Linked DNA regions of Homo sapiens: region 1 is linked to region 2. The links are contacts of gene promoters, found by promoter capture Hi-C in blood cells and fetal thymus (Javierre and others, 2016). All regions are on one chromosome and are shown on one strand. The core of a region is centred on a gene start or on the middle of the fragment in contact, and the rest is flanking DNA. Distances in the headings are between cores, read along the strand shown.

Region 1 (6,835 bases), core at 1,680-4,179, 2.0 Mb after region 2:
GTAATCCCAACATTTTGGGAGGCCGAGGTGGGTGGATCACCTGAGGTCAGGAGATCGAGACCAGCCTGGCCAACATGGTGAAACCCCGTCTCTACTAAAAATACAAAAATTAGCCAGGTGTGGTTTTGTGCGCCTGTAGCCCCAGCTACTCGGGAGGCTGAGGCAGGAGAATTGCTTGAACCTGGGAGGTGGAGGTTGCAGTGAGCTGAGATCATGTCATTGCACTCCAGCCTGGGTGATAAAGCGAGACTCTGTCTCAAAAAAAAAAAAAAAAAAAAAAGTCAGAGGCTCATTTAGGATACAAACTAGATGTGAATAAGTATGGGAAATTTAAAAGATAACCAAATTTGAACCTGAAGTGATCAGCATTTGATATCCTACTGAGATGTCAAAATACTGTTTCTCAGAGAAACTGACTTACCTTTCTTTTCTATTACATAGGCAATGCATGTGTATTGCAGTAAAATTCGACCCAAGTATAACAAATGTTTATATTTAGTGTATATATCTTTAAATATATTCTGACGAACCCTATGCCATTTGCTTAGAACAGATCTGATCGTTCATATGCAATGCTTATGTCCTCAACGAGGCTATAAACTCCATGAGGAGAACCCCTTTACCATAAATCCACATGCCTCCCACCCCCACAGTTTGGTCACTTTCTTTGGGAAGGGATGGGGGAAGTTTATAAATGCTTCCTTCACTAGCACCCATGCATGCATTCATTCATTTGACAAACGTTGTATTGAGCACCTAGTATGGACTTGGGCCAGGTGTAGGAGATTCAAAGGTACATCCCTCCCCTCAGCTTTCCTCCCCACTGCCTTTTTTTTTTTTTTTTTTTGAGACGGAGTCTTGCTCTGTCGCCCAGGCTGGAGTGGAGTGGCGCCATCTCGGCTCACTGCAACCTCCGCCTTCTGGGTTCAAGCTATTCTCCTGCCTCAGCCTCCCGAGTAGGTGGGACTACAGGCGCCCGCCACCATGCCCGGTTAATTTTTGTATTTTTAGTAGAGATGAGGTTTCACCATATTGGCCAGGCTGGTCTCGAACTCCTGACCTTGTGATCCGCCCGCCTTGGCTTCCCAAAGTGCTGGGATTACAGGCGTGAGCCACCGTGCCCGCCCCCCCCGGCTCTGGTTTTTTTTTTTTTTTTTTTTTTTAGACAGAGTCTCCCTCTGTCGCCCAGGCTGGAGTGCAGCGGCGCCATCTTGGCTCACTGCAACCTCCACCTCCTGGGTTCAAGCAATTCTCCTGCCTCAGCCTCCCGAGTAGCTGGGACTACAGGCACACGCCACTACGCCCGGCTAATTTTTGTATTTTTAGTAGAGACGGGGTTTCACCAGACGGGGTTTCACTGTGTTGAGCAGGATGGTCTCGATCTCCTGACCTCATGATCCTACCGCCTCGGCCTCCCAAAGTGCTGGGATGACAGCCGTGAGCCACCGCGCCCGGCCCTGCATGCCCTTTATGACATACCTTTTAGGCCAGGCGCGGTGGCTCATGCCTGTCATCCCAGCACTTTGGGAGGCCGAGGCGGGCAGATCACCTGAGGTCAGGAGATCGAGACCAGCCTGCCCAACATGGTGAAACCCCGTCTCTACTAAAAATACAAAAATTAGCCGGGCGTAGTGGCAGGCGCCTGCAGTCCCAGCTACTCTGGAGGCTGAGGCAGGATAATCACTTGAACCCGGGAGGCGGAGGTTGCAGTGAGCCGAGATGGCACTGCTGCACTCCAGCCTGGGCGACAAGAGCAAAAACTCCATCAAAAAAAAAAAAAAAAAAAAAAGATATACCTTTTTGATCTCAAGAAAGTCACAGTTCAAATAGGGAAACAATACACAATTAACTATTTTACTAAGTACTTGTGCAATTTTAGAGCCATATGTGAAAGTCTTAAGAAAACACAGAAGCAGCCTGGGGTGCGGTGGGTCCTGCCTGTAATCCCAGCACCTTGAGAGGCTGAGGCAGGATGATCGCTTGGGCCCAGGAGTTCAAGACCAGCCTGGGCGACATAGCAAGACCCCATTTCTACAAAAGTAAAAAAAAAAAAAAATAGGTGGGCATGGTGGTGCTTGCTTGTAGTTCCAGCTACTCAGGAAGGAGGCTGAGGCAGGAGGATCGCTTGAGCCCAGGAAGTCAAGGTTGCAAAGTTGCAAGGTTGCAGTGAGTTATGATTGTGCCACTGCAGCCTGAGTGACATAGCGAGACCCTGTGAAAGAAAAAGAAAGAAAGAAAGAAAGAAAGAAAGAAAGAAAGAAAGAAAGAAAGAAAGAAAGAAAGAAAGAGCACAGAAGAGGATTGGGAGGTTATGGGGTACAATTCTTGAGGGGGTGACCCTGGCCAGGCGATGAGAGGGCGGTAGGAAGGGTGATGAGGGGAGAAGAGGATTTAGAAATACAAATTTCAGGGTCTTCTTGTGTCAGCGGGAATTTCTGTCCCTCACAACTTTCATCATAAGATAAATCTAATGTTCAACTAGAGATCTCTCCCGCGCCTTGAACTTGCAAATTTATGAATCAGGGGCAAAAAAAACCCGGATACCGAGCCTGGCCTCCCACCAGCTAGAGAACCCACCAAGTTCCAGGAGGGGCGGGGCCGAGGGCGGTCCGTGCCACAGCTGTGGGCGGGGTTGTCCGTGCTTGCGCCAGAGCCGGCCCGCCCCGCCGCCAGGGGCTGTCGCAGGAGCCAGGCGTGGATTGGTATGTGGGTATGTCGGCCTCTCTTCATAGGCCGCGCAGGATTGCTCGAGAGGCTTTGATTGGCTCAACAGGCGCTGAGCGTTCATTGGCTGCGCTGGGTCGTCAGGGCGACGAAAAAGGGGAAGGGGTGCTGGGCCTGGCGGGCAAACTAAGGCTGCGGACCGTTGGGCGGTTCCGCGGGGCGTTGTCCGGAGAGCTGCGAGGCCGGGGTTCCCAGGGTTCACGCCACACTCTAGGAAGTGCCTGAGCTAGTGAGCTGGCCAACGAGCTCCGCGGGCTGGGACCATGGGCTGCTTCTTCTCCAAGAGACGGAAGGCTGACAAGGAGTCGCGGCCCGAGAACGAGGAGGAGCGGCCAAAGCAGTACAGCTGGGATCAGCGCGAGAAGGTAATGAAAGTCGTGTAGCCGCCGTCTCAGCCTCCCTGAGCCGCTCCGCCAGGTCCCTTACGGCCCGGGACCGCTGAGGGGGCCGACCCAACTGCTGCCGCACTCTCTTGAACGCGGATAGCTGAAGTCGGGGTGCACGACTTTTTTGGGGAGCGGGGACGTGAAGTACAGCGCTAGAGAGGCCGCCCAGAGGGCTGTGGAGCTCCGGAAGGAGCCTTAGGAGTTTGTTGTCGTGGTAGACAGACTCCCCCGGGAGCTTTCTCTGACTCCGAACCCTGCCTTGCTCTGACTTCCTGTTGGAGATGATCGATTCGAGAGAGGGAAAGAGCCGAGAACGCCCTGAATCTCAAATCACCTCGTTTCACCCACCGGCAGCGTCAAGCGGGGTTTTGTCCAGTCGTCGAGTTACGTATATGGGACCGATTCTCATCTCTTCCGGGGCTTAATGTTCTGTGGCTGTTTTCTCTTTTGTCTGCCCTCCCCGGCAAATCTCTTTGGTGCCTCATGATATATTTCACTGCTGAATTTTCTCAATTACCAAGTGGACTGTTTAATGTACAGCTTTACTCCCCCTCCTCTTCCAGTTATCCGAAAGAAATAATGAATATCGCATCAGTCTTGGAATGTGTATTAAGACTGTAAGGTGAAAATAAGCGGCATAAACCAGGCAGTATTTTACTGCTGGTTTAAATGAATGAAAACGCCCTTATTTTTATTTTTGTATATAGCCAGAAACGAAAAACCTTTGAAAACCTCCATTAGTCTTACACAAAACACACTCGGTCATACATTTCATAATAGTTCCTCTTTCTACATAGTTCTCCATTTGTGCTTACTAAACTACTTTGATGGACTTATCAATTATTTCTCCCAAACAAAATGAGAGATTTTTCAAATGGGTATTATGAACAGTTAACTCTTTGCTTAAGGCAACATATCTTTACCCAAGATTACTTTATAATAAATGTATTAACGTTTTGGAATCACAGACCTTTCTGCATGATTTCCAATCCCCAGCAGAATGTATTCAGGTAAGCTCTGGTCTCTAAGAGTCAGAGTTAGGAAATTGAAAGCTTTTTGCAGCTTTTCTCAGCCCCGTCTTTCTGCCCCTACTTCTCATACACACCCTTCTTGGGTCACATGGTACCTTTATTCTCTGTTAGTCATACTCGATAGTAGCATTTTATAATGTAGGGGAAGAAAGTACTATGCTTTCTATTTCACAAGAAGATTGCACCTGCCATTTAAAGTTATCTGATGGGCGGTTTTTAAAAGATATTGTTTTCCTCAGCCTTTGGCTTTCTAACAATGTTCTTTTAGCTTGAATTGTCTGCCTTAGAGAAAGTTGCATATTTCATTTTTATTTTAGTTTTTTCTTTTGAACTCAGGCTAAATCTAAACTAAATAAAATGCCTTTTTTATTTATAGTAGTCTTGGCTGCCTATGACTCATCGTTTCACAATAAATTGTTTTACAGTTAATGTTTATTAACATAATATTCAGGTTAGTTAGGACTTCTCATGTTAATCCTTCTTTTAGATAAGTGTGTGTGTCCTGTGATTTTTTTTCTTCTTTTGCCCATTGGCTAAGTAAATGCATTGAGAAATATAACATTGGACACCAACATCTAAGCTTTTTCCCCACAAATGAGTGTGTAATAAACTTTCAATTGTAGAAACTGTTTTGAGCTTACAGAGAACCTTTTTTTTTGAGAACACTACTAAGTTCTGTAGTTGTAGAGTTGTAAGAGATGTTATTGGATATATAAAATAAGCTCATGCTTCTGAGTGTGTGTATAATAAAAGTTAAAATCTTGATCAACTCAGCCAATCAAAATGAGAATTTCTAACCAAATGAGCATTCTGAAAAAAACCCCAGTTTTAAAATATTTTGGACTGTTGAAGAGAATTACCAGCTTACATTTTGAGACAATGCAGATACCACATTTCCCAACATAGCTTTTTCTTTTTAGTTTTTTTTTCTTTTGGAATTACTAGGAATTCTTTCTAAGTTGCCTCATTTTGATAGCTTGTTAAATTTTATACAATTTAAAATATTTTTTTCTAGGGCCAGGCATGGTGACTCATGCCTGTAATCCCAGGACTTTGGGAGGCCAAGGCTGGTGGCTCTCTTGAGCCCAGGAGTTCCAGACCAGCCTGGGCAATATGGCGAAACCTCATTCCTACTAAAAATACAAAAATTAGTGGGGCATGGTGGTGCACACCTGTAGTCCCAGCTACTCAGTAGGCTGAGGTGGGAGGATCACCTGAGCCTGGGACTTAGAGGCTGCAATGAGTCATGATCGGGCCACTGCCCTCCAGCTTGGGCAACAGAGTGAGACCCTGTTTCCAAAAAAAAAAAATAAATAAATAAAATATTTTTTCCTAGTTCCTTGCCTCCCGTGAGGTTAATTTGGGCTAGTGTGCAAATGTTCTGTATTAGTCCAATGATACGTTTACTGAGCATGGCCTTGCTTGCTCCTAGAAGATTTCAGTTGTACCTTAAAAGGAACAGATTGCAAATACAGCCCAGAGAACATAAATGAGATATGATGCATGCATATTAATAGAAATGATTTATATTAAAAGTTTAGGCTTCTGGAATGTGGTTATGGATTATAGCATATACAGTTTTAAAGTTATATCAGACAATTACCATTCAACTTGTAAGACTTTTACATGTAAAAACAAAATGGGTTGCCTGAAAAATTTCCTTGCAGCTTAGAAAAGGGTGTTTACATTTTTCCTTAGGTTGTGTAATCAGAGTATCTTTTTTTGATGTTTTCTTTTTGAGATGGAGTCTGGCTCTGTCATCGCCCAGGCTGGAATGCAGTGGCGCGATCTCGGCTCACTGCAACCTCTGCCTCCTGGGTTCAAGCGATTCTCCAGCCTCAGCCTCCTGAGTAGCTGGAATTACAGGCGTGCACCACCACGCCTGGCTAATTTTTGTATATTTTTAGTAGAGACAGGGTTTCACCTTGTTGGCCAGGCTAGTCCTGAACTCCTGACCTCAGGTGATCCACCTGCCTCAGCCTCCCAAAGTGCTGGGATTACAGGCGTGAGCCACCGCTCCCAGCCCAGAGTATCTTTATTGAAGGGCACCCCTTGGGTTTTGGGGTTTGAGTTGTGTAATTGGGTCAGTCTTAGGGGACTGAAGCTGGGAGAAATTGTCTCATTTAGAAGGAATGTCTGGGGACTAAGCATTGTCATAGCAACTGACATACTGTAGTCAACAGTGTAAGAAGCTCATTTTCTATTGCTACTGACTTTGAAAAAGAAAAAAGATTACAATTCTTACACTGATGTGATGAGAAATATTTTTGGATTGTAAGACTTGTGTTTAAATTATTTCAAAAGAAATGTTTTTATCCTTATCTGTATGCTGCCACCCATAGGTAGGCAAATTATTCAGTATGTATGTACTCAAACACCAAGTAAGTCTCAAAATTATAAGACTTATCCCTGCCCTAAAAGAGTTTACTGGCTTTCTGGAGTTAAAACAGGAAACATTTAAGTACATATGAGGTGAGGAAGAGTGATACGGAAAAGTAGTTTTCATCTTCCAGTATTCATGCCCATACTTTTCCTCCTAGATAATAGAAATGAGGATTAACTCTAAACAATTATGGCTTAAGTGTGAAAATTGTGATTTGAGTAAGGACAACACATGTGTCTGTTATATTTGTCTCATATTCAATAGAAATAATACTAAACAAAAATCTTATACCAGAAATTCGAGTATCTATT
Region 2 (7,114 bases), core at 2,440-4,939:
CATATATTAGTCGTATTAATTTGCTAAATTCAGATTAAACTTTCCCCAGCTCCTGGTGTATTTAGAATTATGAAAAAGAATCAGTACTAAGTGATATAAGGATGAATGTTCTATTTTCTTTTTTTTTCTGAGATGGAGTCTTGCTCTGTTGCCGAGGCTGGAGTACAATGGCATGATCTTGGCTCACTGCAACCTCTGCTTCCCAGGTTCAAGCGATTCTCCTGCGTGAGCCTCCCAAGTAGCTGGGATTACAGGCATGTGCCACCATGCTTGGCTAAGTTTTGCATTTTTTTAGTAGAGATAGGGTTTCACCATGTTGGCCAGGCTGGTCTGGAGCTACTGACCTCAGGTGATCTGCCCACCTCAGCCTCCCAAAGTGCTGATATTACAGGCGTGAGCCACCGCACCCGGCTTATAAGGCCGAAGTTTAGAATAAATGAGAGATGTAGCAATACTGGGGTTATATGCCTCAAGTATAAAGTACTTAGGACTGCTTATGTGTTGGGCTTATAGTGAGGTTGTGGAGGGAGAAGGAGGAAGTGATGGGTAGAGTAATAATAAATTTAGAACCCAGATTGTGAAAGCAAGAAAAAATTTTGGAAATTCCAGCCTTCCTATTTTATTGAGATTTTTGAATCTATGTGTCTGGCACTTTACCTACCTTATGGCATCTAAAATAATGTTATAAAGTGGCTGTATTTTCTCTTTTTCACAGATGAGAGAACTGAAGCTCAAATTAGACTAACTTGTTGAAGTCTGCCTAGCTATCAAGTGGTAAAGGTAGGATCTGAACCTAGAGCTGTATGATTCCACAATTCATGCTCCTTTGGCTGCACTACTCTGCCTTCCGGTGGGGTTTTCAGATTCACTTTTCATGGAAATTTATTATAAAATCATTTATTGTATGTCCCTATTTCTCTCTCCAGTGAAATATGTAAACCTTATAGGCTCTATATCTATTTTACATACATTTGACAGATAACACACTATGTAACATGTGTATGATGTAAGGACTTATGTTACCATATGAAATTTGTCCCATGCTTGATGATAGATCCTTGTAGTTGTAATAGACATAGAGCACTGGCCTAGAGGATAGGTAATGTTCTCAAGGTCGCACAGCCTGTGTAGAGCAAGGATTCGAATCCAGGTCTGCCTCACTCCAACTCCCACCCATTGCATCCACTCCTTGCTGTTCTGCTATTACATAGTAATAGCGGGAAGAAAAGTGTTGAGGTGTGGAGAGTGGGTAGCCTTTTTTTTCTGAGACGGAGTCTCGCTCTGTCACCCAGGCTGGAGTGCAGTGGCGCGATCTCGGCTCACTGCAAGCTCCGCGCCATTCTCCTGCCTCAGCCTCCCGAGTAGCTGGGACTACAGGCGCCCACTACCACGCCCGGCTAATTTTTTGTATTTTTAGTAGAGACGGGGTTTCACCGTGGTCTCCATCTCCCGACCTCGTGATCCACCTGCCTCGGCCTCCCAAAGTGCTGGGATTACAGGCGTGAGCCAAAGCGCCTGGCTGCCTTTTTTTTTTTTTTTTTTTTTGAGACAGAGCCTCACTCTGTCCCCAGGTTGGAGTGCAGAGGTGCAATCATGGCTCACTGCAACCTCCACCTCCCGGGTTCAAGCGATTCTTCTGCCTCAGTCTCCCGAGTAGCTGGGACTACAGGCGAGCGCCACATGCTCGACTAATTTTGTTTTTTGTATTTTTAGTAGAGGTGGGGTTTCACCACATTGGCCAGGCTGCTCTCCAACTCCTGACCTCGTGATCCGCCCGCCTCGGCCTCCCTTTGCAGGCGTGAGCCACAGAGCCCGGCCGGGATTGAGTAGCCTTATAATCCTTGAAAAGGACCTGAGTCAGGAACTGCTAACTTCAGGGAGATAGTCAAATACCAGCAAAATGTCTATCTGTGCTTGTGCAAGTGTGTGTGTATGTGTGTGTGTGTGTGTGTGTGTATGAGAGAGTGTGCGAGCGAGTTACTGGGGTCAAAATTTCCTTGGCTTTAAATGTCACCATTTGTGACAAAGTTAACAATGTATTAATTTAGCCGTAGAAAAGATTTGGCCCTTTGTACACACTCATTCAAGCAAAATGGAGTATCATAAAGGGAAAGGTGTTTCAGAGGAAGTAATTAAACATGAACTATAATCTATACAAAACTACAGTTTGTTCGTCTAGTTACTAGTCTCAGGGGAACAATTTAAAACTGTGTGCAAAATCAGTTGGGATTCCCATAGCTTCCCGCTGAATACTGGTAGGAATTACTGGGTCAGCACTGAATTGTCTTCGTCATATTTTGAAATCCAAGTTTAAATATATAATTTTTATTGGTTACAGGTGGAAAACCTATTGAAAATATAAAAAACTCCGTTTATAAACAGAATCTTGTCCTTATATGTCTATCAATTTTTTCCTATCCCTGTTATAAGACATACAGCTTAGTAAATAAATTTGCCTTTTGAGAAGAGTAGTCGAAAGGCCTATTTTTTTTTCACCTATAGTAAAGATTAAAAGTCAGACTAAAGCCTTTCCCCTGCACCTGAGAGACAGAACAACAAAATGTTACTGTTGTCTAGGGGTTACAAACCTGCAGGTTTTGGGGGATAGAAAGGATTTCTTGGGCCACCAGCTGTGATGATTTAATTATGTCTTCTCTCAGGTCTGTCCACAAGCAGCCCCTACTTTTGTAAGAAGGCTCCACTGAAATCATGGCAATAGAACCCAACATTCTGCAGATCCCGCTTCACAATTTCTCATTGCTTTTTCTTGTAAGACTGTAATGAACTACTGATAAGACACAGGGTAAACACAGCACGAAAATCTGGCCCCAAAGTGCCGCCAACAGACAGACCTTTGGCGGTGGGGAGCCATGGTCGGCAAGCCAGGCCCCGCGGGCGACTCTTCATTCCCTCCGGCCTGGGGCGTATGGGCGGGGGTCAGGGGAGCCCTTCCCCCTTCACTTTCGGCGCGGGTGAGGTGATCGGGGCTGCCAGCGCAGGTCTGGCCTAGGGCGGCACCCGGACCGCGGGGCACGGGACCGGCAGCCGCTCCCCGAGCGCCCTCCTCGCGGAGGCCATTATTTCCAGCAGTGCCAAAAGTCTGAGCCTTCTTCGGAGGGCAGAGGTCGAGGGCCGTGCGCCGCCTCCCGGCTACGCGACCTGTACCAGGCCCTGTGGGGTCCCGGGACCCCTGGAGCGCGCGCGGGACGGCCGGAGCCGCGGTCTGGGCACATCCCAGAGCTCGCGGGCAGGCAAATGCCGTCCTTGGCGTCTTCGCCCGCCGCTCGCGCCCGCCGCGGGCGGTGCCGGACCTCGCCCTTCCCCACCACTCCCCTCCCCCTCCAGAGCCCGCCGCGGTTCCCGAGGTGACACGGCCCGGACCCTCCATTCTCTGCCCCAGTGTATTTAACCAGCACAACCTAACAGGAAGCTCCCTCTCGGTGACAACCCTTCCCCCGACAGACGCGCCCAGCAGCCAACCACCGGCTAGAATTGGCCTGCGTCCCGCTCCCATCTCGGTGGCGGCCTCGGTGGGCGGGGCTCGGGCAGCTAGCAAGTTAAGTGGAGCCACGGCTGACGTGAGTCAACAAAGGTCACGTGAGGCGTGCGGGCCGCGCCGATTGGTGGCGCCAGCCGGGCGGGGAGGGGGGGTCACGGCGGCGGCGTGGGGTTCGCTGTGTGACACAATTACAACAACTTTGTGCTGGTGCCGGGGAAGTTTGTGTCTCCAACGAATCCCCTCAGTGCTCCCCAGCCCCGCGCGCTCCGGCCGTTCCCGCCGTCCCCGCCTGTGGCTGCCCCCTGCCCAACCCCGCGATGTGACCCTACAGCCGAAAGCCGCCGCTGCCGACCCGGGGGCTCCGCAGCCCCTGCCGCCGCCGCCGCCGCCTTCACCGCCGCCGCGTTGGGATTTTTCGTCGCCGCCGCCCGCGGCGGAGGAGGAGGCGGCGATAAAGTTGGTGTGCTGGTCCCGCGCGCAGATTGGGGGCGTCACTGCGGGCCCCGGTCCGAGGGGGGGTGTCGGCGTTGGAGTTGTGAATTCGCTGCGTTTCCATGAAATCCTGCGGAGTGTCGCTCGCTACCGCCGCCGCTGCCGCCGCCGCTTTCGGTGATGAGGAAAAGAAAATGGCGGCGGGAAAAGCGAGCGGCGAGAGCGAGGAGGCGTCCCCCAGCCTGACAGCCGAGGAGAGGGAGGCGCTCGGCGGACTGGACAGGTACGGGCCGCCGTCACTCGCCCGGTCGGCTCCGGACGGGCAGTAGCCGCTCTCCCGGGAGGACCGAGCGCGGCTTGTCTCTGGCGGCGGCGGGGCGGGCACCTCGGTTTGGCGCTCTTCGCGCCGCCTCCGCTGGGGCCTCGGGCTCGGGCAGGGACGGGTCGGTGGCGTTCCCTGAGCGTTAACGAGTAAACTGTGTCTGTCTCCACAGCCGCCTCTTTGGGTTCGTGAGATTTCATGAAGATGGCGCCAGGACGAAGGCCCTACTGGGCAAGGTAAGGCAGCTGCGAGTCGGAGCGCGGACACCGTCTCCCTGGCCGGCGCCGCGCTCGCCCCGGGCCCCGCGGCCGGGTCTGTGCTCATTGTGGCCACGGACGATGGTCGAGGGGCTTCCGGAAACTATTTCCTGCCTCTGCTCTCCCCCCACCCCCGGGTACCCTGCTTGCTCCCTTGCGAAATCGCTCTTTTCCTCTTGTAGCTGGAGGAACAGAGACGGGATCGCTTTGGGGCCGGGCTCAACTGGGTCGACACAACTGCCTGCTATTTTACAGCTTTTTGAGGGTAGGCCGATGATCTTCGAGGTGCCTGTTTAGGGTCAAGGGATCGTGAGTGTGTTCAGATTTTCCCAAATTTCGGACTTAACTTGCCTCTACGGGTTTAAAAAAATTCTTTTCCTTCAAGCAGGCTGTTCGTGATGCCTACTGCTAACCAAATGTTTTAGGCTTTCTTGTGTCCCCGCTCCCAGAAGGGGGAAGTTTCACGGAGTTTAGGTCGGTGAAGAGTTTGCATTGGGCTGTTGACATGTATCTCGATTGCAGTGTGTGTTACCTGAAGTTAGGTGACTTGTTTACTTTTTGGGTCTTTTTGGCATAGAAATACCGTAGTTATTTGTAAACGTGTTCTCTTCCTGGAGCCTCATTTCCTGTGTGTCTGACAGGGGAGGCTGGGGAGGATTCGGGGTGTAGTCTTTTTTTATTTGTGTGGAAAGTTGTTGGCACTGTCATTTAGTTAAGTAATGGCTGCTCCTATCGGCCCAAGATGGCGGGACAGGGTGGGAGGAGAAAGTGAAGGGGGGGGTTAGGGGGAGGGTGTAGAGGTAAACATGGAAATAAATAGTAGCCGTGAATAAGCCTTTCCTTCGGAGTGTGTAGCTCAGTGGTGTTTAAAAAAAATTACCCAAGATTATTTGCATATAGAATTCTTATACCTTTCATAAGCTTGGAAGCAGCATGCATAAGCCTGGTAAATGCTTATCAACCTGTAGCACATTTAGTTATCCATCTGTAAGCTATTGAACAAAGGCTGGAGTCTCAATCTGTATGCATCAGTTTATATTTCCTGACCAAAATCTGATTGCAATGGTATTTGAATACTTTCTTCGTAATTGGGACCGTGAAAGTTGGAGTGTGTGCTATGGGTGTTGTATCCGTTAGACATTTTCTTTTCTAGCTGAAATCATAGCTTTGCATTTGACACCTAGCTTTATTGTTGCAGTTGAGACGCAAGTTTGAAATAAGTCTAACATTTTATTCTTAAGTTGATTTTTTTGTTGTTCTGAATTTTTGTCTGTAGCTTGGTTTCGCAGAGTCATCAATTCCTTTTTATCTGTAATTACACATTTGTTTTTATTTCAAAGTAATTATAAGGTGTTATATTGCATATAATCAGAAAACTAAATGGAAATAATGCTTTTCAGTAAGCCCGGCCCCTTTGACCGATACAGAAAACTTGAATTAAACTTTGACTACGTAGGTATTAATTGGCTTCATTACAATTATTGCTGTAAAAATGAACAGTGACTAGCTCTGGAAAGATTTAAGCGTCAGTAATTGTTGGTCTCCTGCCTTAAAGTTTTTTTTTTTTTTTCCAATTTGAGTATTTAAAGTATTTTATTTAAAAATATTTGACTGCTGTCAAAGTTGTCATTATAAAAGATTAAACATGATTTAAATTAAAAGAGCATTATTTTGTTTTGGAGGGATTATTGTTGGTCTAACATGGGTTAATAAAATTGCTTGCAAAGATAATTCACGTGGAAAAGTTTGGCCAAATCGATTGCTTTTGGTTATGGTGATGAAAAAATAAATGGAATCTGATGTTTTATGTTGAGAATGTGTAAAATGCTAGTTGATTTTATGTCTTAGAATGCTCATATTCATATAGATTCACTGCGAATAGTGCTTAACATTGGATTTCGGATTGTAATATTAAACCCTGCAGTTATGCACTAACGAGTTTAAATTTTAAAAAAGTAACCATTTTCAAATATTCTTGGCAAGTTGTGCATTACTTGATGTTTGAATACATCTTAAAAATGAAAAACTAGTGAAGCTTCACTATGTTTGGGGCCTTCATGATATATGGGGTAATTTGATGAACGATTAAGCAGTTTGTTAAACTAAAGAAAAAAAAATCTTCACTGCTTCAGACTCAGTGCTTGTGAGGTGTCCTACCTGCTTAGGACAAGATTCATCAGCCTTAACATTAAAATAAAACCTTCTGTAATATGTGCTTGCAACCGCATATAGTTCTTGGTTGCATCTTTGTGAGCCTGAACATACCAGTGGGGTGTGTAATGTAAAGCCTGACATTATATAACTTCGCACCCTCTGTTTGAATTGGGTTCTGAATGAAGTGAATGAGCTGGAGTCCTGCTGTAGGAAGTCTTGAATTATTTAGTTTCATCCTTCTTTTAACAGTCCTCGAAGCAGTATTTTTTTGTTTTTTATTTTTATTTTTTGTGGAATGTTGAGCTATGTTGGTTTCAGAATTCTTATTCCCTGAAAGTCTTAAGAGTTGGCTTTCCTTTACTGGGCAGGTTTAGGCTACTTACCTGAGGGCAGATAATGGAATTGAATAACTCCCAGAATTCCCTTTTTAGCTTTGATTTTTGTCCTGCC

What was found. The method cuts DNA at HindIII sites, captures the fragments that hold promoters and counts their contacts. A CHiCAGO score of 5 or more calls a contact.
Region 1: the fragment with the promoter of RP2 here is called in contact with the fragment with the promoter of KDM6A in region 2 in 1 of 17 cell types (neutrophils); the score reaches 5.4 in neutrophils.

The regions. Positions count from the first base shown.
Region 1 is chrX:46,834,114-46,840,948 of GRCh38, forward strand. RP2 (RP2 activator of ARL3 GTPase) reads left to right here and starts at 2,930. Exons shown (of 5, transcript NM_006915.3): 1 at 2,930-3,089. The coding sequence starts at 2,988. RefSeq lists a silencer at 2,532-2,611 and an enhancer at 2,922-3,061. The HindIII fragment of the contact is 11,862 bases long and covers 1-4,160 here.
Region 2 is chrX:44,869,499-44,876,612 of GRCh38, forward strand. It overlaps KDM6A (lysine demethylase 6A), which reads left to right and starts at 3,690. Exons shown (of 30, transcript NM_001291415.2): 1 at 3,690-4,214; 2 at 4,426-4,489. The coding sequence starts at 4,054. LOC105373190 (a long non-coding RNA gene) reads left to right here. Exons shown (of 3, transcript XR_949040.2): 3 at 716-805. RefSeq lists silencers at 2,880-3,379, 3,630-3,859, 4,200-4,459, 4,500-4,579, 4,590-4,689. The HindIII fragment of the contact is 16,030 bases long and covers 1-5,429 here.